Linked DNA regions of Homo sapiens: all the other regions are linked to region 3. The links are contacts of gene promoters, found by promoter capture Hi-C in human tissues and cell types (Jung and others, 2019). All regions are on one chromosome and are shown on one strand. Each heading gives the region's core, a stretch centred on a gene start or on the middle of the fragment in contact. The rest is flanking DNA. Distances are from core to core; before and after follow the strand shown.

Evidence for each region. The method cuts DNA at HindIII sites, captures the fragments that hold promoters and counts their contacts. A contact is called where the count stands out against the background at its distance.
Region 1: a contact is called between a fragment that was not itself captured here and the fragment with the promoter of PLCB2 in region 3, in 2 of the 25 tissues and cell types used here (lymphoblastoid cells and mesenchymal stem cells).
Region 2: a fragment that was not itself captured here is called in contact with the fragment with the promoter of PLCB2 in region 3 in 1 of the 25 tissues and cell types used here (lymphoblastoid cells).

The regions. Positions count from the first base shown.
Region 1 is chr15:40,049,035-40,051,734 of GRCh38, reverse strand. The region is part of intron 2 of SRP14-DT (SRP14 divergent transcript); the gene reads right to left. Among named protein-coding and RNA genes, the nearest start is that of SRP14-DT, 11 kb to the right of the region's middle. The HindIII fragment of the contact is 7,633 bases long and covers 1-2,700 here.
Region 2 is chr15:39,888,254-39,890,953 of GRCh38, reverse strand. All of the region lies in intron 1 of GPR176 (G protein-coupled receptor 176), which reads left to right. Among named protein-coding and RNA genes, the nearest start is that of GPR176, 31 kb to the left of the region's middle. The HindIII fragment of the contact is 5,143 bases long and covers 1-2,700 here.
Region 3 is chr15:40,306,645-40,309,344 of GRCh38, reverse strand. It overlaps PLCB2 (phospholipase C beta 2), which reads left to right and starts at 1,410. Exons shown (of 32, transcript NM_004573.3): 1 at 1,410-1,756. The coding sequence starts at 1,673. The HindIII fragment of the contact is 11,638 bases long and covers 1-2,700 here.

The DNA.
Region 1 (2,700 bases), core at 16-2,515, 260 kb after region 3:
TAAAACTTAGGAGATTCCAAGGATTTTAGGAGTTGTATGTCAGGAATGAAGACCTAATTAATACCTGTTTCACAATATCACAGGCACTAACTGCAGGTAGTCAGTGTCAGAATTGACACTGAATCCAATTGCAGGATGCCCCGTTGGTGTCAGAGAATAGTTGTCAGAACATACAAAGAGGACTCTTCCCTAAGATTCACATCACACTCCTTCTCCTGCCTGAAATGGCACTCTGCTCCCCGCAGTAACTAGTCCACTAGTCTGTTTTTCTAAATTCTTTCTTCCCTTCAAAGTCCACCTCCTTCACAGCTTGGTACTAGTGATGCTGTCCTGTAGCCCTTTCTTGCATGTATAACTCCGCACCTCCCACTAGGTAGCATCTGCTTTTGAAGAGAGAGACCTGGGGAAGGCTTGCCCTGGACAAAGGAGTTGCCCGCTAAATGCTCATCGGTGGATAGAAGGGGAAGGCTGCATTGAAGTGAGGAAGGCTGCTGGCCTGGCGAGCATTCCTCAAGAAGAAGCCTCGGCTTCAGGCCTCTCCCCCTCCCTCCTTCCTCTGTTGGCTGTGAGAAGCAGTGTCTTGGGATGGGCCGGGTTTCGGGGCGCTGGATCTGCAGTTCCAGCATCATTGCCCTGACAGTAAATACAAAATTTTGGCATCTTCTCTGCTGCGATTGCCAGGGCTCACCCAGGCCAACACCCGCCCCCTCCCCACACACCACACTCCACACACACACCACACACCCCCACACTCCACACACACATCCCCACCCTCCCCACACACCACACACTCCCCACTCCAGACACACACACCACACCCCCCATACCACACACGCACCATCACCCCACACCCCCTACACACATCCACACACACTACCTCCTTACACACACACACCCACACCGCACCACACACCCCCACACACCACACCCCCCACACACCACATACACCACTGCCCATGCATACCACACCCCCTCACACGCGCACACACACCATGCACACACAAACCCCCCCCACACTACACACTCCTCACACACACACAACCCCCCACACATGCCACATGACACCTCCCCACACACCACACACAACCACACAGACGCACACACCACACCCCACACCACACACACCACCGCCCCCGCACACCACAATCCCCCACACACCACACACTCCTCACACACACCACACCCCCCACACACACCACTCCCCCACACACCACACACCCTCACAACTTCCTCACACTCCCCCTACACACACACACACACACACACACACACACACACACACACAAGGGCTAGACCATGCCTAGCCTATGTCTGCCTCATTTTGGGCCGCAGTTGAAAACCACTAAACATGGCCATAGTCTGGCCTTGTTACTCCTCTCTCCCTTGCTGTTTGGCAAAGGGCCAGTAGAGAACAGTGTGTTCCCCCTTGCACACTTTCTCACCCACCTTCCACCTCACACACTCCACCTTTCCCTGAAGCTGCCTCCAAAAGCCTAGGTTTATGTCTCCTTCAACAGCTCTGACAGAGTCTGGTTGACCCAAGCCATGTGGGTAATTGGTGGGGGCAGACAGCCATGCTACCCATCCCCTCAACACCCTGGAAGATGAGCAGGCAGCAGACAGGTGGGGGCTACACTGGGCTCCTCCTCCCAGGCAGGCCCATGTGAGAGGTTTCACAAAGTGACCTAGAGGCACTTAGGAAGCCCAGGGCCTTCTTCCACATCACTGCCCACGGGGAACTGCTCTGAGTTGCTAGGCCTAGATCTGGCTTCAGAAAAAGCATGGCTCCTGCGTGATCTTTGGGCCTCCACCTTCACTCCTTCTTCCAGCCCCCACCTCCTCTGAAGGCCTCTCTCAGCATATGCTGGGTCTTAGAAGGAGAGAATATTAGCCATTTATACCCTCAGGGAAATTTAAATGGCCATGTTAAGTTTTAGCTGTAACTGGAATGAAAGGCCTGGTCCCCAGTTACAGGAATTGTAAGGAGCAGCTTCAGTGGAAAAGAGGGTTGGGAGGATGGGATGTGTCTTTCCTGGTATTACTGTGACCCACTCCCCATGTTCTGCTTGTCAAGCAATCTGGAAGAATTCTTGCTCTTCCCCACCAAGTGTTGGGCAATCTTCTAGAATACTACCTCTTAAGATATTCTGAGTCCAAATCTCCCAAGATTTTCTCCCAAATCTCTTTATGGTGAGGATCTGGGGAAAACAAAATCCCATCCTATTTCAAGTTCTGAATAGAATACAATTCCATTTTATCTTGCCCTCAATTGGATTCTCATCCTAATTTCTTTCCCAGCTATACTAGCCCCCAAACAGTCATTACAGCAATCCCAAAGTTACCTGACAGCATTGGAGTCTCACATTTAAAACTGGAAGGGACTTTACAGCTCAATCCCAACTCCCCAAGTTACAGAGGAAGAAACTCAAGTCCGGCAAAAAGTGACTTGTCCAAGGTCCCACGCCAATGAGTGGCAGAATTCAGATTAGAACTCAGCACTTCGGCTGCCACTCCAGTGCTGTTTCTGTAAGGCCACAACCACTTCACATCCCCACTCAATTTAGAGTTTGAGGCCTGGAGTTTAGGTACTATTTTTGGAGACATTGTTGGAAGTTCCAGGATGAGGTATTTATGAAGATTCAGTTCTCATTTCCCTCTCCAAAGCTCTTGGCTGGGTAACATGGCTCATGTCTGTAATCT
Region 2 (2,700 bases), core at 14-2,513, 420 kb after region 3:
TCTGTCTTACTCCATTAAACTCTACAATTATAAATTTGAAGGGATATATACCAGGGTGCCAAATTTAGTATATGGCCTTATGGAAGCCTAGTCAAGCCCAAGCCCAACTCATCCATGGTCTGGTGGACCTCAGCTCCAGCTCAGGTTTCTTACCATTACCAGGCCCAGAGCCATTAACTGGGCTCTGATGGTGAGAAGATTTATGTTTCTGTTTTGTCATGGGCAAAAGGATAGGAGTCAGTAAGGGTTCCTTTGTCTGGGTGATATTGAACACTTGTGTGTGTGTGGTATTTGTAGCTAGAATGAATGAATATTTGCTAAGCAAATAGAGCTTGGCACATAATAAATGCCACAAACCTGTTTAAAAATAAAATAAAAAGTATAATTTACAGTCAAAATCAAAGTATATGATTCTATACTACTCAATTTCAAAGGGCCACTCTCAGAATCTCCATACTTTCCCAGTGGTCTGCGCCTAAGGCGTATCTCCTCAGCCTTCCATTCACCTCTGTTTTGAGATCTTTGTCCTTGGTCTGTTAAGTTTCATAAACTGTAACTTTTGGCAAATGGGAAATGTCCTCACAAAGGAGTCCCTTCAGTTTTCAGTGCAATCTCTTCTATAGTGACCTGCAAAAAACCCGAATTAGAAAATTAGTGTGAATAGGTATTTTTACAAAATAAGTTGGCACTTGCTGAGCTTAATTTTTTCCTGCCTTTATGTTCACAGAAAAGAGACATTGTAAGTCTTAAGGGCAGTGGTGTGCTGGTAAATGTTTAACATCAGGCTCTCTCTAAGAAAACCCAAATTTGTAGTGGTTTGTGATTTTCGTAGGCTCTAAAAAAAGCCAGGCGTGGTGATATTTTCATATCATCATATTGAAAATGATGATCAAAATTTTCATCATTTTGAAATTGGCCATGATGAAAATATCATCATTCAAACTCCCAGTGTGACCTCACTGAAGTGGAGTTGGGCAGATATATGGACATAGGCTCTAAAACACCTCTGCAATAGGCCTTGGGTAGATGGAGAATTGAGGGGATGTGCCTTAGATCTGGCGCTTAGAGAGGCTATGGAGATGCTGAGACTAGCTTTTCTCTGTGTTTTCTTTTGTGCATACATTCATTCTACAAATATTTACTAAGCACCTGCCATGTGCCAAGCATTGCTCTAGGTACTAGGGATATAGTAGGGAACCAAACAAAGTCCTTACCTCCAAGGAGTTTGCGTCCCAGTGAAGGTATTCACAAACTTGCAATTTCACCTCCTTGGGACCCTAGCGTTCTCATATTTGGGACAGTTAGAGTCAAGGTCCCATAACACTTTAATGTTTTGTTTTGTTTTATTTTATTTTATTTTATTTTATTTTATTTTATTTTATTTTATTTTATTTTATTTTATTTTTGAGATGGAATTTTGCTGTTATTGCCCAGGCTGGAGTGCAATGGCACAATCTCAGCTCACTGCAACCTCCACCTCCTGGGTTCAAGTGATTCTCCTGCCTCATTCCCCCAAGTAGCTGGGATTACAGGTGTGCGCCACCATGCCTGGCTATTTTTATATTTTTAGTAGAGATGAAGTTTCTCCATGTTAGTCAGGCTGGTCTCGAATTTCCAACCTCAGGTGATCCACCCACCTCAGCCTCCCAAAGTGTTGGGATTACAGGCGTAAACCACTGTGGCCGGCCAATACTTTAATTTATTAAATGAAGGAAATAGCATGGGCCTATTTTAGTTTTCCTAGTTGTAAAGCAGGGATTATGGAGGAGGAGGTAGAATTGCTCTCTGAATTGTCTCCATCTTGGAGTCACAGAGATCTAAACCTTGCAATGTCAGGAGCACTGGCTTATCTTACATGGGAAACTCATGGTAGATAAAGCTTAGTTAGAAAGTTTGTTGTGTAGATTCTCTGATGCCCTCTCCAGGCTGATAAGGTTCTAACGTAATCTCTGGTGATCAGCCTTTGTCCTTCCTGGATTCCTTTTTAAATAGCTGGTGCCTCAAGGGGGAAAATTGGAGAGCAGGGATGATAAGAGTCTTGCTGGGAGTTCCAGTCCCCTAACTAACCCAGAGGAGGTGACTGTTTATCGCAAACAATTACCTGTCTCATTAAAAGTTATCACAGCTAGAAGCTTATGGAGTGGATAAGCTTCTGGAAATGGAAATTGTGTCTAAGAATCGGGAAGGTTCATATCCTCAAGATGGGTAGGAAAGGGATTGATGAGGCTACTCTGATGGTAGAACTCTGGAGAGAAAGATGATTTACACATTGTAGGGGAAGAAAAAAAATGTTCTCTTTACCTTTCTGAATTCTGGGCTGGGACCCTTGTAACAAAAGGTAGATTAAGAGGAGAAGAATAAGCTGGGCAAGGTGGCTCAAACATGTAATCCCAGCACTTTGGAAGTCCAAGGCAGGAGGATCAGTTGAGGCCAGGAGTTTGAGGTTATGGTGAGTTATGATCACAGCATGGCACTACAGCTTGGGCAACAGAGCAAGAGTCTTAGCCAAGTGTGATGGCCTGTGCCTGTAGTCCTAGCTGCTTGGGGGACTGAGGTGAGAGGATTGCTTGAGCCCAGGAGTTTAAGGATACAGAGAGCTATGATCATGTCGCTACACTCCAGCCTGAGCAACAGGGTGAGACCTTGTCTCCAAACAAACAAACAAAAAAAACAAATAAAAAGCAGATTCCCTTCACCCCC
Region 3 (2,700 bases), core at 161-2,660:
TGCTCTTCTGCAGATTATTTCTGTGCTGGGAATTCCCTTAGCTCCAGCCTCCACTGGGCAGTTTATTATCTTAATTCCGCATGAAGAGTGTCCTCCCTCACCCTCCACCCTGCCCTGGACCAGACCTCCAGCCGCGACAATTCTAGGGCCTGGGTGAGGGTCTTACCGTTGTTGGGGGTATGCAAAGCCCCATGGGGGGGTGACCCAGGGCAAAAGGCCAGGCCCCAGAGGGGAAGGAAGTCTTGGGTAGAGCTCCCTGCCTCCCAGGCTGGGCTAAGAAGGGCGATAAGAGGAGCAGATTAGGCAAGAGGAAGTGGGCTGGGCTGAGCTGGACTGGTGCTGAACTCCCTGGGCCTGGGGCAGAGTGTGGGTCAGGCACCTGAGCAGCTGGGGCTGAGCCTGGCCAACCAGAGCAGCCATCCCTCCGCCCCAGCCCCGCTGCAGGCTGGGGTACACAGCAGAGGCGGGCACACGGAGGAGAGAGGAGAGCGCAGTGGAGGCAGGGGCTAGGGCTGCTCAGTGGGGGTCCAGGCCTCAGGCAGTCCCAGAGGCCCAGAGGTGGGAGTCTGGTGAGGTGGGTGAGGGGAGTGATTGCCTTGCCTCATGTGCCCCTCATTTTCTTTCTTTTTTTATTTTTTTCGAGATGGAGTCTTGCTCTGTCGCCCAGGCTGGAGTGCAGTGGCGCCATCTCGGCTCATTGCAAGCTCCGCCTCCTGGGTTCATGCCATTCTCCTGCCTCAGCCTCCCGAGTAGCTGGGACTACAGGCGCCGCTGCCACGCCCAGCTAATTTTTTGCATTTTTAGTAGAGACAGGGTTTCACCGTGTTAGCCAGGATGGTCTCGATCTCCTGACCTCGTGATCCGCCCGCCTCGGCCTCCCAAAGTGCTAGGATTACAGGCGTGAGCCACCGCACCCGCCCGCCCGGCAGGTGCACCTCATTTTCATGGGGGAGGAAGCATTGAGAAAGAGGAGCCGTGTGTTCAGCAAACTTTGCTTATTCAAAACACTCCATTCCAGCTGGGCCCTGTCCCCACCCCACCCCTGCCTCTACGGTGCTCCCAACCTTTGGGGTCAGATGCCCATGCTCTGGACCCTTCCCCTGAGGAGGTCCTTTCTCCTAGTGAGCTCCCTGTGCCTTCCCTCAGTCCAGGCCTGGGCAGCAGTCTCCCCAGCTGGTCTCCATGTCGTCCTTCTCCAGCCCTCCTGGGCCAAATCTGACCAGAGACCACCACAGGGACTGAGAGGCCCTGGCTCCAAGGCGACCCGGCCTCATGACCACGTCTCCGCTGTGAGCAGCGCAGAGAAGGAAGCCCAGAGCAGGAAGTGCTGAGAGGCACAGGGTGGGGCTGGGGGTGGGGGCGGGGGCCTCCAGAAGAGGCGGGGGCTTCCTGCTTCAGCCTCCTTGGGCAGAAGCAGTGACCACAGGCCCCCATGGCAGGCAGGGCGGGTGGGAGGAGGGTGATTTACAAGGCAGATGGGCCTCTGGCTACAGCTCAGTCCTGCACTCAGCCAGGGCCACCCCAGGGGCTATAAGAGCAACTAGATTTCTGGAGCAGCTCGGGGATGGGTGCCATTTGAGCCCAGCTTGGCTCCCCCTCCTGGCTGGCCTCCTTCCTGCCCTTCTGCCTGCCTGTGTCTGCTGAGATTCTGCAAAGAGGAACGCTTGGCACCATGTCTCTGCTCAACCCTGTCCTGCTGCCCCCCAAGGTGAAGGCCTATCTGAGCCAAGGGGAGCGCTTCATCAAATGGGATGATGTAAGTGGGGCAGGGGCCTCAGCTGCTGGAGCACCAGGTGGTGGGGGCCGGGCTGCTACGGGGCTTTGCTTGGGTGGGAGGATTGGTTTATGTCTCCTAGGATCCAGGCGCCTGTGTGGTTTGGCCAGGCAGCTGACACCACTGCTTGGATAAACAAACCTGGGATTAAGGGTGTATGTCCCCAGCTAAAGGGCTAAGCCTTGGTTCTAGGTGTGAGAAGTGGGTGAGCTGCCTGGGTGGTCACTGGAGGTAGTTTATTTGGGTCTGCTTCTCTTCTCCTTCAAACCCCCAAGAGAAGAGGAGGAAAGTGCACCCCAGAGCTGAGGCAGGCTAGGAGGAGAGGTGAGCTCGTCCCCGCTCCCAGCACAGATGTCTTGCCCTTGCTCCGGCAGGGCGCTCAGACCCAGCTCCTTCACCCCCTCCACTGGGCATCATCCTGTCCAGGGAAGCCTTGCTCTCCCCTGCGCTGCTGTGGGGGCAGCCACAAAAGGCCCCTGGACCTAAGTGAGAACTAGAGGCTTCTGCTCCCAGGGAAGGAGCTGATTTGACTTCTGCTACCCCTTGCTGGGCTCAGCATTGCTCCCCGATGCAGGCCTGTCAGCAAGGGAAGGGGAAGACACTGCTGCACCCTGCAGCCCTCTCTCTGCTGTGTCTGTTCCTTCCTACACGGGGCTGCTCCCAGGCTCTGGTTCTCCTGGCCCCTGAAAATGTTACCTTAGGCCAGGGATTCTCTTAGGCTGGAGAGAACAATATGGAGATTCTCCTTCAGGGAGGGGAGGCTGCTGGGCTCGCCCAGTCTGAGAGTTAGAGTGCTGGGCTTGTCCCAGGAAGGGAAATGAAGGCTTGGTGGGGGAGGGAAGACAGCCCTTAGTGCTGACTTGTCCACCTGATGGGAGGTGGGATGAGGGGGTCTGGGTCTAGGCCCTTCGGGGCTGGGCTAGGCT